6 separate regions of the Homo sapiens genome follow, and regions 1, 2, 3, 5 and 6 are each linked to region 4. The links are contacts of gene promoters, found by promoter capture Hi-C in blood cells and fetal thymus (Javierre and others, 2016). All regions are on one chromosome and are shown on one strand. Each heading gives the region's core, a stretch centred on a gene start or on the middle of the fragment in contact. The rest is flanking DNA. Distances are from core to core; before and after follow the strand shown. Region 1 overlaps LOC105375690 (a long non-coding RNA gene). Region 2 overlaps ATP6V1C1 (ATPase H+ transporting V1 subunit C1). Region 3 has its middle 38 kb from the start of LINC01181. Region 4 holds the start of FZD6 (frizzled class receptor 6). Region 5 has its middle 13 kb from the start of LINC01181. Region 6 overlaps BAALC (BAALC binder of MAP3K1 and KLF4).

Evidence for each region. The method cuts DNA at HindIII sites, captures the fragments that hold promoters and counts their contacts. A CHiCAGO score of 5 or more calls a contact.
Region 1: a fragment that was not itself captured here is called in contact with the fragment with the promoter of FZD6 in region 4 in 1 of 17 cell types (activated CD4 T cells); the score reaches 5.4 in activated CD4 T cells.
Region 2: a contact is called between a fragment that was not itself captured here and the fragment with the promoter of FZD6 in region 4, in 1 of 17 cell types (megakaryocytes). The highest score is 6.5, in megakaryocytes.
Region 3: a fragment that was not itself captured here is called in contact with the fragment with the promoter of FZD6 in region 4 in 3 of 17 cell types (megakaryocytes, endothelial precursors and erythroblasts); the score reaches 6.1 in megakaryocytes.
Region 5: a fragment that was not itself captured here is called in contact with the fragment with the promoter of FZD6 in region 4 in 2 of 17 cell types (endothelial precursors and megakaryocytes); the score reaches 9.0 in endothelial precursors.
Region 6: a fragment that was not itself captured here is called in contact with the fragment with the promoter of FZD6 in region 4 in 5 of 17 cell types (megakaryocytes, endothelial precursors, total B cells and 2 more); the score reaches 12.1 in megakaryocytes.

The regions. Positions count from the first base shown.
Region 1 is chr8:103,484,319-103,487,018 of GRCh38, forward strand. The region is part of intron 4 of LOC105375690 (a long non-coding RNA gene); the gene reads right to left. Among named protein-coding and RNA genes, the nearest start is that of RIMS2, 15 kb to the right of the region's middle. The HindIII fragment of the contact is 4,909 bases long and covers 1-2,700 here.
Region 2 is chr8:103,062,275-103,064,974 of GRCh38, forward strand. It overlaps ATP6V1C1 (ATPase H+ transporting V1 subunit C1), which reads left to right. Exons shown (of 13, transcript NM_001695.5): 9 at 681-773; 10 at 861-954; 11 at 2,440-2,537. Among named protein-coding and RNA genes, the nearest start is that of ATP6V1C1, 43 kb to the left of the region's middle. The HindIII fragment of the contact is 363 bases long and covers 1,166-1,528 here.
Region 3 is chr8:103,081,502-103,084,201 of GRCh38, forward strand. No RefSeq gene overlaps it. Among named protein-coding and RNA genes, the nearest start is that of LINC01181, 38 kb to the right of the region's middle. The HindIII fragment of the contact is 1,938 bases long and covers 426-2,363 here.
Region 4 is chr8:103,297,648-103,300,347 of GRCh38, forward strand. It overlaps FZD6 (frizzled class receptor 6), which reads left to right and starts at 1,251. Exons shown (of 7, transcript NM_003506.4): 1 at 1,251-1,348; 2 at 2,309-2,637. The coding sequence starts at 2,461. LOC105369147 (a long non-coding RNA gene) reads right to left here and starts at 1,171. Exons shown (of 2, transcript NR_148216.1): 1 at 702-1,171. RefSeq lists enhancers at 827-1,327, 1,328-1,828, 1,682-1,731 and silencers at 932-981, 992-1,161, 1,282-1,531, 1,394-1,688. The HindIII fragment of the contact is 1,769 bases long and covers 192-1,960 here.
Region 5 is chr8:103,106,879-103,109,578 of GRCh38, forward strand. No RefSeq gene overlaps it. Among named protein-coding and RNA genes, the nearest start is that of LINC01181, 13 kb to the right of the region's middle. The HindIII fragment of the contact is 1,223 bases long and covers 673-1,895 here.
Region 6 is chr8:103,144,969-103,147,668 of GRCh38, forward strand. The region is part of intron 1 of BAALC (BAALC binder of MAP3K1 and KLF4); the gene reads left to right. Among named protein-coding and RNA genes, the nearest start is that of BAALC-AS2, 5.0 kb to the left of the region's middle. The HindIII fragment of the contact is 1,455 bases long and covers 688-2,142 here.

The sequences.
Region 1 (2,700 bases), core at 75-2,574, 190 kb after region 4:
ATGTAGAAATTGATTAAAAATAAGAAACCATAAGGAATAATCATGGATGTTTTTGACATTCCTTCCTTGGGAGATTTATGGAAAATGATGACATCAATGACAGAAAAATGGAAGTCAGAGAAAGAATTGGTTTTTTGTTCTTGGAGGAGATAGTGTATAAACTGTTTTAGATATATTCAGTTTGAGGTGATAGTGAAACCCTCAAGTATACATGCTATATAGACAACTGGGAATGAATAACTGAAAATGGAGATACAGTTTTAGATATTAGCTTCATTAAAATAATAGTTGAAACCATAATTTTATCATTAATCTTAAAGTGAAGGTAAAACAAAGTGAGGGCATCATCATTATTTTAAAAAAATTTCCTGCATCCATCTAGGGTCCTTTTGGTTGTTTGCAAAAACTTTTGTCAGCTACTTGGGAGGCTGAGGCTCAAAAATCTCAAAACAAAAAAAAACCTTTTGTAATATTTATAGTGAACTTGGGTAAAAATTCTCCAATATTCTCTTATGAGTGAAGAAATGATAAGAAATAACATGTTTATGGTTGTACCTTATCATGGTCATCAAGTCAATACATGCTTATATATTATAACAGGGACTCTATTTATAAAGTAAATAATTCCTATGTATGTATTGTTTTAACAGTGGGGTGGTCAGAGTCCTTCTATTTCACTTTTGGTGCTATTTATTTTTTCAAAGATTCTTATCTATAGTTTTAGGGTAAAATCTGGATATATCTCAATCATCTCTTCATGACATTTTAAAAATTTTATTTTCCCTCATTTTTTGATTATATTGAAAATATAAAATTTACTACTTTCATGCTATTTTTTTCCTTATGCTATCTCTGTTATTTTCATTGTGATTCTGAAATCAACATCATTTGCTCACTTTTACGCTTCACATTATATACATATATATTGAGATAGAGTTTCACTCTGTCGCCCAGGCTGGAGTACAGTGGCACGATCTCAGCTCACTGCAAACTCCGCCTCCCAGATTCAAACGATTCTCATTCCTCAGCCTCCTGAGTAGCTGGGATTACAGGCACGTGCCACCACACCTGGCTAATTTTTGTATTTTTAGTAGAGACGGGGTTTCGCCATGTTGGCCAGGCTGTTCTGGACCTCCTGGCCTGAAGTGATCTGCCTGCCTTGGCCTCCCAAAGTGCTGGGATTACAGGTGTGAGCCACTGCGCCTGGCCCACAGCATATTTTTTGTGTGTGTGAAAAAAAGTACTTAAAATGTAAAGATTTCAAAAATTAGTTCACATTAATGAAAACTAAAAAATAATACTTTCTGTCCACCAACATAGTTAAGTATTATGATTATTTCCCAGCATCTATTTCACCCTTCCCTATTATGTGGCAACCATGTGGTTTTGTTGGGTCAAGCCTATCAAGTAATCCCACTCTCTTGCTACAGAGATAGGTTCAGGTTAGTCAGACTTAAGTCATCAGAGCATGGCCTGCCCTGGCCACAGGGATGAATAAAAGGTGCTCAAATTAGTGCACAGTTCAGAACTTCTATTGAATGGATATAGGAGTAGACTAGCTCAGTTGTGGAAAGGCCTGACTGTTTTTGTCAGCCACATTATGTCTGTGAAAGGAATCACTGTTAAAATCAATACCATGGACAGCAAAGTACAGAACCAGAATGAAATTTGAGTCCCTGACAAAATAACTAGGCTGCTGGATTAATCAATTCTGATTATCTATTTCTGAATTTTCTAGTTACATGAGCCAATAAATTTCCTTATTGTTTGTCATTTTATGTCGAATTTCCTTTATATGTTACTGGAAGTGTCCTAAGAGGTAGAGCTTTCTTTTTCTATTGATAAGCTAACTGTTATTATACAGGAAAGCCCTGTAGATTCCAACTTTACACCTCTATACTTAGTTCTTCCTTCTTGACTAAGCTACTCATGGCAGTTGCACAAGACTTTGAAATTGAGCTTTATTTATCCCTTACTTACATGCGAGCAGTATGTCTGTTATCATTCTCATAGACTTACTTACAAATGAGCTCATTCCCTCAGGGGTGTTATGATCTTCTGGGATTTCCAAAGCATGATGTTGTTTCTTAAGAGAAAATCATGTTGTTGAGCCTGCCAAGATTTCCCCACCTTCAATATGGTTTACGAATATTTCCATTTCTTAATTCATTGACCATCACATTAAAAAAATTAAAGCATCTTACAAGAAGAAAAATATACATTTTAAAAGAAGTAAACAAAAAATAAAGACAATGGGATGTTTTCCATGTTGACTTCTTGCAATACAGATGCTTAACTAATCCTCTATCAGTGCTGTTCAAGAGAAATTTCTTCCAAGGTGAAAATATTTTATATCTGCACTATGCAAAATGGCAGCCAGTAGCCATATATAGCTATGAGCACTTAAAATGTGATTAGTGTAACTGAGGAACTGAATGTTTAATGTTACTTAATCTTAATTAACATAATAAATTAATATATGTTTAAATTTCAATAGCCACATGTGGTTAGTATGGCTATGGCTAGTGCTACCATATTAGACAACACAGCAGAAGATCAACCCTAGAATATTGCAGGGTTAAATAAGTGGCAGTTGAATGCTTTAGCCTAACAAGTGTACTTCTACAGTGTTTTTTTTAATCCTTGAGATGTTGTTCAATGTGCATTTAATGAGGTTTTGTTTTGTTTTCTTTCTTTTTT
Region 2 (2,700 bases), core at 97-2,596, 240 kb before region 4:
ATCCTCCCACCTCAGCCTCCCGAGTAGCTAGGACTACAGGCATGCACCATCACGCCTGGCTAGTTTTTGTATTTTTTGTACAGACACAGTCTTGCCATGTTGCCCAGGCTGGTCTCAAAGTCCTGAACTCAAGCAATCACCCACCTCAGCCTGCCAAAGTGTTGGGATTACAGACATAAGCCACTGCACCCAGCCTGTCAGTTTTTGATTGAGAGATGTCATGGGAGCAAAGGAAAGATCCAAGGTTTAAGGTACTGGCAATGCAGAGAGGCTAGGCTGGGCATCAGTGGGGCTGAGTTGGCCTGGAGAAAGGAAGAAAGAATTAGGCTTCCAGAAAAGAAGAGTGTGCTTATCAAGGAGACACTGGAAACAAAGCAGCTTGGCGCTGATGTTGATTGAAAAGTGTGGTTCTTAGCGTTTGGATGCTTTACTGGAGTTAATGTCTAATTTTGTTGGTTAGTAAGAAATAAATGTAGAGTGTTAAGGTATCATAAGCAAAATAAATCATAAACATTCAGTATCTTCGGTGTTTGAGGCAATCCAGATTGAAAAGCATTGAGGTGATTTGGGAAGGGCTATTATACCCTACTTTTCTCTTCCACCTGTTTCTGAATTTTGCCCTTAATATGAAAGACAGCAATACGTATAAATCTTTAAATGGACTTTTTTTTTTTCCATAGTGTTCTTTCAGAGGACCAAGACAGTTACCTGTGTAATGTCACCTTGTTTAGGAAGGCAGTTGATGACTTCAGACACAAAGCCAGAGAAAACAAGTAAGATTATTGTTTTTTTGTTTATTTACTTTGTTAGATCAGCTGTATACAATGTGAACAATTTTGTTTTTTTTCCCCCAAATTTAGATTCATTGTTCGTGACTTCCAGTATAATGAAGAGGAGATGAAAGCAGATAAAGAAGAAATGAACAGGCTTTCTACTGATAAGAAAAAACAATTTGTATGTGTTTTTAATATTTAGTATTATCAGTACTAAGCAGAAGAAAAAGTGGTATTGCTTTCCTTTGATTTAAAAGAAAGTAAAAATCTGCTTTGGTTTTAAGACATTTGATTTTAGTTTTTTTTTTTAATTGAATAATCAGAATGAATTTCCTCTAAAGCTTAACTGTTCTAGAGATAACTATTCTATTTCTAAGAAAGCTTTCTTCTAAAGCTTATGTCTATCTGAGATAGAATAGAGTAGATAGAATAGTTATCCTAAAATACATACTTAAAAAGAAATTACTCCACCTAAATCCATATCAGACATTAATTTTAAATGCAGTATTCTGGTTAACATCCTTGTAGGTGAAGGGTGATTTTAGTTAAGTAACGAAGTTCTTTTCAGTAAGACTTTTCACTTTCTTGAGGCAGATTTTTTCAATGCCTCAATCTTTTATTGAAGCAATTTGTATTTAAGCTATTGGAGAATTGGTGTGTTCTAGGTGTAATGGGAAACGAGTGGAATTGTGAAAATCAAAGATGGTGTTAACTTTCTTGCCATCTTCAAGTGTGGGATTACTGTGAAGACTAAAAGCTTGTTTGGAAAGGGAAACATAATGAGTGAAAATGTGTTTCTCTTAATAATGTAAGAGGAAATTAAGGGAAATATTGAAAATTATTTCCAAGTACTTTATAAGCCATATCATCTCAACTAGGAGGAAACTCATTCTAACCAAGTAATGTCAAAATAACCAGCTTTTTAGGGCAAACCCAAAATCCTTTTAAAAAATAGATATTTTGACAAGATTTTCACTTGTTTTGCTATCCTTTTGCTTAAATTAATTGTTTGGTACATCCAAATGAGCCTAATAATGTTATCCAAGGAAGTGTTAGCTGAATCTTTTAAGTATGGAGAGAGGAGGTATTTGAAATCCGCTTAATCCTACTAAATATTTGAAGTTTAAAAAGAACTTAACGCTATACAATTTAGAATGTAAAGAGGTTTTAGATGTCTAGACCAACTCCCTTTTTTACAGATGGGAAAACTAAGAGCTAGTGCTGTTAAATGACTTGCCTACATAACTGTTTATCTTTGTTACTAAGAAGTTGTTTGTAAGTTGAATTTCATTTTACATGTATTAAATGTTTTAGAGTGTTGTGTAGTAAATTCAGATCTTTATATTTTGATTTTCCAACCTAAGGCATTTCTATATTTTGTACCATTTTAACTACTTTTATTAAAATATATACCTTTTTCTGTGTTAGTGAATTGGTTCAATGCATTTTAGTGTCTGTTGAGATCTCTCTGTAGTGGCGAACCTTTTAATCTAATTTAAGATAAGGTATCTGAGATAATGAGAATAATAGTGAAACATGTAGAAAGTGAATTATGCGACTTAATTCTTCTATAGATTCCTAATAGGTAGTCACTTAAAAAAATATTTGGTCTATCTAATTGCTATTTCTAAGACCAAATTTGTGGTAATTTTTTTTCTTTTTATAGGGACCACTTGTACGGTGGCTGAAAGTGAATTTTAGTGAAGCATTTATTGCATGGATTCACGTGAAAGCATTACGGGTTTTCGTTGAGTCTGTTTTAAGGTAAAGCAAGTTAATTGCCAAACTTGGAACTGAAGAGTTCATAGATTCCTTACATTGGACCTCTTTATTATAACACAGTCCAGCAATAGGAAATTGATTTGGAGAAATCAAAGGGCCAATCATGAGACAGAGATTATCAGTATCATCATACAGCTTATAAAAT
Region 3 (2,700 bases), core at 145-2,644, 220 kb before region 4:
AGACAGCCCTTTTCTCTGACCCCTATGTCCCTCTCATTTGAGGAACTATCTATCTTTTCATTTTCCTCCACATTCTTTATTCTTTTTAACCTCCAAAGAGGCCCTCCACCTGCATTACGTGCCTTGCCCCATTAATAATGTACTAGTGCTATGTATGCTTGATTTTACATAAATGTTTTATTGTGCATTAAGGTCCATTCCCCATGCATATGCGCACATAAATTGCACTAATTAGAGTGCACAGCATGTTATATTGCAAGATTACATAAAATAGATTCAACACTTGGATATTGTCCAGTACATTAATTCCTTTCTTTTACATAGGACATAATATCATTGATTGTGCATGGCACATTAAGTCACATCAAGTCACATCAATCCTTAACAACATGCTTATCACTTCCAATAGGATTTCTTTACCACCAAGCTTTGAGAAACCAGCAACCTACTCAGGAAATGTCCTTCTTGCTTTGGGCCCATAAAACCTAGGGGCTTCTAGACTTGAAACTATACCTAGCATCTGGTTCTTACTTCAGGGCCATAGATTTGAAACCACTCATTTGTTCCCCCTAAATAAGACATCTCAGTGACTAATGACTAACTAGCACAAGATGACATGGAACTGTGGGGTCATGCATTTGGTATTTTTTAATTTTGGAGGGTGCTGTGATCCAACATGGCTGTCAATGCCTTGACACAGTCAGCTAGATCGTAGCTGCGCTTAAATGGAATATTCTTTACTCACATAAAATCATTTGGTGCTAATTGATTCATCTCAATGGACGTAATAAAAACAAGATATAGACACAGACACATACAAGCAGTTCTTCCTGCCATGTATGATTAACTTTGTAAACCCCTCTACCCTCCTTAAGCTCTTATAGTATCTGAGTAAGTCTTTTATTCTTGCCAACCCTGCCCAAATAAGAAACCTTGTATCTATTGACTGCTAACTAAGGCTCCTATATATACTCACATGCTATTAAATTTAGTTATAAGTTCATCTAGCATTAACCCAACTCCTAATTAAAGCATTTTTCAAAAATCCAAACATCAATTAAAAATTAGGCTTTCTAGGCTAAAAGTTTTTTTCTTACTAAGATTACCAAAAGAGCCCCCAATGCTAACATAGCACATAATTTAGCAGTTTTTTTCCCCAGGACAGAATTTTCTAGATATAAGTCGATGTAGCTCAGTCCACTAAAGTAAGGCACTGAAAATGCCTAGATGAGTTCATGTAACTGCATAAACACACAGGTTTGGTTCTGGCCCTTCTATTAATTCTTAGTAAGATTACATGTGCAAGTATCTGCATTGCATGTGTAATCAGCAAAAGAGCAAAAGGAGCAGGCGTCAAGCACACTAATTGGTAGCAACTAACGTCTTGCTCAGCCACACTCCTACAGGAAATAGCAATAATAAAAAGCAATAAACAAAAAGTTTGACTAAACTATGCTAATTTTCCTTAGGGTCAGTAAATTTTGTGTCAGCCACCACAGTCATAAACCCAAATTAATAAAATCTGAAAAGCACGTTTGTGTTTAGGATAATACAAATAAACTACAAAAATGACTTTAATATGATCTGAATACACAATAGCTAAGACCTAAACTGGGATTAAATACCCCACTATGTTTAGCCATAAACTTAAAGTTATTCACTAGAGTACTATCAGCAACAGCTTAAAACTCAAAGGACTTGGTGGTATGGTGTTTCCATCCCCCCTAGAGGAGCCTGGTTCATAATTAATAAGCAATGATAAACCTCACTATTTCTTGTCAATTCAGCCTGTATACTACCATCTTCAGCAAGCCCTAAAAAGGTCATAAAGTAAGCACAAGTACTTACATGGAAACATTAGGTCAACATGTAGCTTATGAGATGGAAAGAAATGACTTACATTGTCTGATTAAAGTACACCCAACCCATGATAAGCCTTATGAAACTACAGGCCAAAGGAGGATTTAGTAGTAAATTAAGAATAGAGAGCTTAATTGAATAAGGTTGTGAAGCACACATAGACCGCCCATTACCTTCCTCAAATGCTTCAATAAACTCAAGTTTATAATTAACACAGACCCATCTATAAGAGGAGATGTCAGAACAAAGAATACTGGAAGGTGTGCTTGGACAAACCAAAGTGTAGTTTAACTCAAGGCACCTGGCTTATGCCTGGAAGATTTCATATTAATCTGACCACTTTGAACTAAAACTAACAAAATTTAACAACTACATACACATTTTAACCAAAACATTATTTACAACAGGGAGGATAGGAGATGATAGAAATTTATTTAGATGCTATAGAAAAAGTACTGTAAGGGAAAGATGAAAGAATAAACTGAAAAAAAAAAAAAAAACAAAGCTTACCCCTTATGCCTTTTGCATAATGAATTAACTAGAACAATTTTACAAAGAAAACTTTAGCTAAAAACCCCAAAACCAGATGAGCTACTCATGGACAGTTACAAGAACAAACTTGTTCATGTGGTGAAATTGTGAGAATATCCTTGAGTAGAGGTAAAATGCCAGTCGAGCTGGGTGAGCGCTGAATTTCAATTCAACCTTAAATTTACCTAAAGAAATATTTAACCTTAATGTAAATTTAAACGTTAATCTAAAGAGGGACAACACTTTAGAAACAGGAAACAACCTTTTATAGAATGTAAACTATTAAATTCTCATAATTGGCCTAAAAGC
Region 4 (2,700 bases), core at 1-2,500:
CTAGAGCCTGATCACAAAAAGATCTCATTAAGTTCGTAGAAACTGGAGAGAAATAGTCTTCCAATGTAGAAAATTAGAAATTTAGGGGAAAATATTCTTCCTACATAGAAATTTATTCTGCAATACATCAACTATCCAGCTCTTAATGATGTTAATATTTCTTCATCACTACCTGTCTCCCAACATCAGTAAGCTTTTGATAAAACTGGGGAGGAATTCCCCACTCCAAATTCGTCTTTCCCCACAGATTCCAAAACTCTTACTCTGGTTGTTCAGGGTTGTCCTTCTAGGTATGGAAATATGACATTCCTTTTCTGCAACAGGATGATTTATCTGACAAGAATAGCCTCCATCTACAAGTTACTTTGCATTTTTCAAAGTACTTCTACAAGTTCATTTGCTTCTCATACTATTCTGCCTGTTTCATAGGAGGGCCTTACAGGTTAGGTGTAAACACTTGTAACGAACTTGGCACTATTTGACTTACAGCCAGTGCTCAATTAACGTTAACCATCATTACAACTATTGTCATTCCTATATTGTGAGGAAACTATGCCCCTTAAAGATTAGGGTAATTTATCTAATATCTATGACAGAGTTGGTACCCCAAACTAGGTTGATTTCTACAGCAGTTCAACTTCCTATTAGGGTTTGTATCAATAAAACTGTGGGACCCGCCAGGGCTGGAATCCCACTGCTACCTGAGCATCCAGTTGGTGACCAGGCTCCCCGAATTAATAAAAGTATTTGTTGTTGTTTTTATAGCAGTTGTCCAGGAAGTATCTCCTTTCGAACTCAAGTCACTTGGGCAATTGGCTTTACAAAGCAAATTGGCTCCGTTTAAGGATTCTTGACTCCTGAAATCCGCAAGGAAGTGGGTTCTTTTAGAGCCAGCGCCAAGAGCTTCAAAAAATCCTTCTAAGGTGAACCCCTCCGGACCCGGATAGCGAGATGGGGCTCAGCCTTGCGCCTCGGGGGTCGTAACAGACGGCAAGGTGGAGGTGGCTTCCCGGCCCCGCAGCCGGACCTCGGCACCCCGAGCCCGTTCACCGGGGCCGGGTCCTGGCGGGCCGCGGAGTGAGGCCGGGCGGCGCAGCGCAGGCGGTGCCCGGGCGCAGGGCCAGTCCCGCCGCCGCCGCCGCCGCCGCCGCCGCCGCCGCCGCGAGCCCGGACCTGCCCGCCCGACCTGGCGGCGCAGTCTCGCGGGATCGCTCAGCTCTCGCTCCCCGTGCGGCTCTCGAGGCAGCTCCAGTCCCGGACGCAACCCCGGAGCCGTCTCAGGTCCCTGGGGGGAACGGTGGGTTAGACGGGGACGGGAAGGGACAGCGGCCTTCGACCGCCCCCCGAGGTGAGGCTTCCACGGCTGGGACTGGGCAGGGGCCGGGCGGGTGCCGGGGGAAGCGGGGAGGGCCTCGAGGGGCGAGGGGCCGCGGCTGGGATGAGGCGCGCCGGGAGCCGCAGGTGCTGGGGAGGCAACGGCGGGACGGCCCGCACCTGAGTTTCCTCGGAAGCGGGAACCGGCTCTGAAAGGCGATGCCGGGGCCCCGCGGCGCCGCGCAGGCCAGGAACGCTGCTGTCTGGCTCTAGGCCTGGGGCAGGTTCCCGGGTGTGGGGCGCTGGCGGACCGGGCATCAGTGTGTGTTGGGGCGCGGGTAATTCGTAATCCGGGGCCTACAGCCTTCCTCCCGCAAGGGGACTGCCTTCGCCCTTCCCCCGGGACAGATTTGCGCACTTTCCTTTCGACGGCAGCACTACACCCTCCTAGCCAGTGAAAACTGCAATGTTGCTCCTCCACTGGAGGAATCCTAAAAGTCTCCCTCTAGTTGGCCTTACGAAAATCGAGAAAACTACATACCCAGAAGACTGCCACAAAAACTGACTCTTCAGAGTCTTTTACAAGTTTAAGAACTCTTTGGGTCTTAAGGAATTTCCCAGGGCCTTAGTTTTCTTGTACTTAATAAGCTTTCCAACAGGGGCCCTTAGATTGTATGCTTATATTAATCCTTTATAATTTACTCCGAATCACCAGCTTTCCTTTTTTCCTCCATCTTACTCTTGCCATTCCCTCTTTTTAACCCTGTCTTCCATACAGCACCAACCTCCTAGCATCGGTTTCCTAGAGGTGCAGCTTCCTTAGCAAATGATATATTCCATGCTAAGGCAGGTGGAAGAGTATCTCGTTAGGACAGAATTTTCCGTTGTTTTTCCAGTGTTTGTTACCTGGGGTGAAAATCTTAACTCTGCACTTTGACTCCACATTTGAGTTTATGACAAATGTTGCTGATACACCCTCCTTTTGTTTTTACAGTAATTGACCCAGGACTCATTTTCAGGAAAGCCTGAAAATGAGTAAAATAGTGAAATGAGGAATTTGAACATTTTATCTTTGGATGGGGATCTTCTGAGGATGCAAAGAGTGATTCATCCAAGCCATGTGGTAAAATCAGGAATTTGAAGAAAATGGAAATGTTTACATTTTTGTTGACGTGTATTTTTCTACCCCTCCTAAGAGGGCACAGTCTCTTCACCTGTGAACCAATTACTGTTCCCAGATGTATGAAAATGGCCTACAACATGACGTTTTTCCCTAATCTGATGGGTCATTATGACCAGAGTATTGCCGCGGTGGAAATGGAGGTGAGTAGTGCTTCATACGTTTATTGAATAGTAGTTTATGCTCTGTTCTAGAATAAACTAGTA
Region 5 (2,700 bases), core at 34-2,533, 190 kb before region 4:
AAACTCCGTCTCTACTGAAAATACAAAAATTAGCTGGGAATGATGGCATGTGCCTGTAATCCCAGCTACTCGGGAGGCTGAGGTGGGAGAATTGCTTGAACCAGGACCTGGGAGGCAGAGGTAGCAGTGAGCTGAGATCGAGCCACTGCACTCCAGCCTGGGCGACAGAGCAAGACTCCGTCTCAAAACACAAACAAACAAACAAACAAAAACAAAAACAAAAAAGTGGACGTTTGTTCTTCTTCTGAGTAAAGCCAATTAGCTAACACAGGCAAATAATTCTGTCTAGTCCTCTTACTTGACAACTAGTTATTGTTGATCTTGAAAACGTATGTATGGGTTATACCTACTTGACTATATAAAGGGATGAGATTTCTTTCTGTCTTTGCAATCTCTCAGCAGATTGCCTGCAATGTGCGCTACATTCTGGTTTAATGCTTATTCAATTCTCAAAGTGTTTTTGTTTTCTATTACTTTTGTGGGGAGGATTTCTGGGTTAGGAGAAGATATAGTTTTTGGTTATATTTCCCCAACATATCTTACCATATGTCTGGTCTGTGCCTGGCCTCCTGGACTCAATCCATATTTGGTAAGTACGATGTATGTCACCTTGGCTTTTTATAGCTAAAGTTCTCTTAAAGGACTCGAACATTTCCCAAGAGATTATCTTAAAGCTTGGTGAAGTAAGAATCAGATATTATTATTTTCATTTTGTGGTGGTCCCAGAAGGTAAGGGGCCTGTCCAAGCTCATGTAATCTGGAGAAAAGCAAGGAATTGTTAAATATTTGTACTGCAAGACACTGCATGCCTGCTGCCATATCTCCCACCCTGCAGGAACCCATGCTACGTGGATTTCCACTCTATTATAATATTACAGTTTTCTTTTCTGTCATCTGGAATATTCACTTTTCCCTCAAATCTCTGCTTCTGCTCTGTATCAGCATATTTGATCCACTCCTAAGTATAATATGTGTGCAAGACAAAGGGGGACACATGTCCACAGAAAGACCTGTTCATTAATGTTCACAGCAGTTCTATTCACGATCGCCCCAACCTGGAAGCAACCCAAACGCCTATCAACAGGCCAGTGGCTAAACCAGTTGTGTCGTATCCATACAATGGAATACTACTCAGCCACTCAAATAAACTACCTATACATACATTCAATAACATTAGTGAATTTCAAAAGTGTCATGCTGAGCTTAAAAAAAGCCAGATACAAAAGATTGCACATGAATCCATTTATGTAAATGTATGTAAAAGATTACCGGAGTCCATGTACGTAAAAGACTACATATGTGCCCATTTATGTAAAATTCTGTAACAGGCAAACTAAACTATAGTGATGGGAAGCAGCTCAGTTGTTGGCCAGGGTGGGAGTGAGAGAGACTGACTGCAAATGGACACAAGAACACTATGGGATGGAAGAAATGTTCTATCTCTTGGTTAGGGTGGAGGATGCACACATGTATCATTCGTCAAATCTCAAAATGTGCATATAAATTGGGTGTCTTAGTCTGTTCAGGCTGCTCCCCCAAAATATCACAAATTGGGTGGCTTATTAACTACAGAAATTGACTTCTCACAGTTCTAGAGGCTGGAAGTCCAAGATCAGGGTGCCAGCACGATCAGGTTCTGGTGAGGGCCCTCTTGACAACTTCTTGCTAAGTCCTCTCATGGTGGAATAGATAGAGGAGCTCTCTGGGGTCTTTTTAACAAGGGCATTAATCCCACTTACGAAAGCTCCACCTTCATGATCTAATAGCCTCCCAAAGCCCTCACCTGCTAATACCATCACACTGGGGCTTAGGTTTCAACATACGAATTTTGGGGGGAACAAAAGTAGTCCACAGAAAAGGGCATAGTTGATTGTATATAAGTTATACTTCTGTAAAGCTTATTCAACAAATAATTATACATTTTTGTCTGTGCACAAAATTTGAAATAAAAAAGAAAAACAATAACAAAATGCAGTTTGCTTTCTCAGCCAAGGTGACCTAGTTCACAGATGACAGGAGAGCGACCTTTCTGCAGAGCCCTCTGCGTGCATCACAAGGGTTGCCCCTAGCCCATCCCCAATCTCTGAAAAGATGCAGACAGAGAGCTGGTCATAATAACCTGCAGCTGGGAGTGATGTGCTCCCAGAGTTCTTCTCCCGGGAAAGCCGGCATTGTCAGGAGAATCACATGCAGCCCACAGCTGGCGGGCTTTGTGTTGAATCATGATGCTTTTATAGGAAAGAAAGGGCTGTGATTCACATGTGTCATCGTTGATGGGAATATTAAGGGCTCCCTTCTCCTGGGGGAAAAATAGAAACCTCTCTCTTTAAATATTGCATTTCTTTCAAAACAAAAAGTCACTTCAGCTCCTCCCCACTGATTCATTTGAGAGAAAAAGCTGTCAGGCCCCGTATTTGGTTAAGGCAAATCCTTTCTCAGAACAAGATAGTGCTGTGTGTAGGAAAATCACCTAACTCTTGTCAGTGTTTATCAGATGTGGAGAGAAAACCTGCTTCTCTCTTTGTCATGTGACCCATCGCTCCTGCTGGCATCGTGCCATCAGCTGAGGGGTGACTGGGTTTCCCACCCACAACAAGGGTTCAGGTAGGGGCCATGGGCCTGAATTGTAATTCAGTGTTTTGAAACAGATAGCACAGTTACTAGAGGCTGGGAAGGAAGGATGAAGAAGGATTGGTGAAT
Region 6 (2,700 bases), core at 165-2,664, 150 kb before region 4:
GAAATGAGGCTGGAAGTCTGCAAGTAACTTTTCCCAGTTCCAGCCTGGAATCTAGTTCTATCCATTTCCAAAGCCTCTACTCCTAAATACTGCCTTCCTGATTAATAGGGGATATGCTATGAAATTCTTGATTTTACAGTTCACTAAACTCAAAGTCAAGTCTGATCTCTTGATTCTACTCTGATCTCAGACAGCACAATTGTCTTCTGCATCATCTCTAAGGATGGAATATCTTTTCCCTAAGGAAGGAGGCTTTCCCATAACTTTATGAAGCAGTTCTCCTGTGAGACTCTTCCTGCTTCCTTGTAATTTCTACCCGGTGAACTCCAGACCCATGTGATCAAGTCTTGCACAGACAACTCTTTCAATATTTGAAGATGGCTGTCACATCTCTTACCATTGGTCTTCCAGGTCAAATACATGCAGTTCCTTCAATCACTTCTCACACCTCAGGTAGGCCTGACCACATTCTCTAAATACACTACTCGGTTTGTCAAAGTCCCTCTTGATACAAGGGACCTATGGCTAACTCCAAGCTACTGATGTCAGCTGAACGGCATAGGGCAATACAAGGTGTGCTATGATATGGTCATTGAACAAACCTCTCTTGGTGCATGTAAAATCAGGTTAGGATTTGTTTGTTTTCCTGCTGTTGTTGTTGCCATATTACCTTGAAGACTCACATTAAGCTTATGATTAGTTAAAATCCTTAGATCTTTCTTTATAATCAAATTTAAGTTTTATGACATCAAGGACATTGTATTTTCTCTGCTATGTACCCAGCACCTGGTACAGTGACTAGAACGTAGGTGGCGCTCAATAAACGTTTGTTGAATGAATGAATTTCTTTCCTTATGAATCCTGAATTGGTATAATTGACTTCAGTAACCCAAATAAGGAATTTTTGCATTTATTTCTGTTAAATTTCATCTTATTGGTTTCAGTTTAACGTTTAAATTTGCTGACCTTGATTCATTTTGATAGAGCTATGAAAACAATATTCTAGGTCTTTGTTTCTCTGTGTTGACAGAATAAGATAAAAGACATCTTTTTTTGCTCTTTTGTTCACTGAATAGACATTTGGCACAAAGATGACCTGAAGAAGTTACTATTATAGGGAAGAAAAACATAAAAGTGGACACCGTTCAGGTCAGCATTGTCCATGGTCCATACTAGAAGGGCATGTAGAAAAGCATTAGAGGCATTCAGGAACTAAGCAGTTTTTTTCTGCCTGGGGAGGGGTCAGTGTGTATACAGACCCCTGCAGGAGCCCAGCAGAGGAAGGGGGACTGTCCGAGCCAACCCTCCCACCCTGGAGAGGAACAGGAGTGCAGCCCAGCTGGCCTGACTCCATCCCCGAGAGTGAGAGCACCTGTGGAGAGGACAGCCAGGGCTTCCTGGTGGATAAACCCCCTCCACCCACACCCCAGCTGCCTTGACTTACCTGTTACCGCTTGTGGTTCTATCTTTGAATAACTAGTGATTAATGTCTGCTTCCGTCAAGGATGACTGTTAGGTTTGGTAAGGCAAGGGTTCTGTTGGGTTAGATAAGGTTTCATTTCACACACAGTCCTATCCCTGTACCTAACGCTGTTCTGGCTACATCAGGACCCTGAGTAACTTCTCATAAATGAATAAATCTAAAACTTCTGTTTGTCAATTTCTTCTTGTAGACCCCAGAGATGATGTTCTCTTTCCTCATCAGTTCTCTCTGCTCAACTTTTTGTTGTCTGTCTGATGGGCTGCACAGTAAGAAAACATCCCCACCTTCCTTACACCCCTTTTGCCAAACACAAGCCTTTTTGTTATAAGCTGTTTCTTAAAATCACTGCAAGAGACAAGTGGTAACAAACCTAGGCAGTTTGTAAAGGTTTAGGCAGCCTCATGTTCCCATGGCCCTTGTCTCCTGGGCAGAGTATCATGTTGTGCCATTGGCTCTCCAGACACTTTGAGAGTCTAGTGATGGTACCTGTCACACTGCATTGCCAGGGCTTGGTCATTCCTCTGTCTCTCTAGTTAGTCTGTGAGCTCTTCCAGGTTGGGGATCACATGATTGATATTTGCATGCCTGGCATCTTCCACACATTTGTTGAATGACTGTGAAAATGAATAAATGAATGAATGATCTAGCTGTGCAAATGAAGCTTAGTCTGTCATTCTTATAACCTCTTTCCTGAGTCTCATCTTAGATGCTTTTGTCTTAGATATCAGTCCATTGAACCTTGTCTTCATTGGACATTAGATAAAACAATTCCAACCCTAGCCAAAGATGAATTTAAGGTGACTCCACTGCAGGGTGTAGTAGTATCCTAAGTGCATTCCAGAATTTCCTCCAGAATATGTAGAAAGAATGAATAAGACCTACTATTTGATAGCACAATGGGATGACGATAGTCAATAATAACTCAACTGTATATTTTTAAATAATTTAAAGAGTGTAATTGGATTGTATGTAACTCAAAGGATAAATGCAGATTTTTTTTTCTGCAAAAAACATTGCAGATTTTTTTTTCTTCGGTTAATAGGCCCTGGTGGGAAGAACCTAGTCTTCTCTGAGTCAGAAAGGGGTCTTTTCCTGGCTCATTCTGCACTCAGCAATCCCTCAGGTTTGGACTCCTGGAGGTCCAACCTTCACCCTGGGATCTGTGCACCTGTGATCCATAGCATCTTCCTGCTGATAAGGCCATTCTGCCCTTGTGA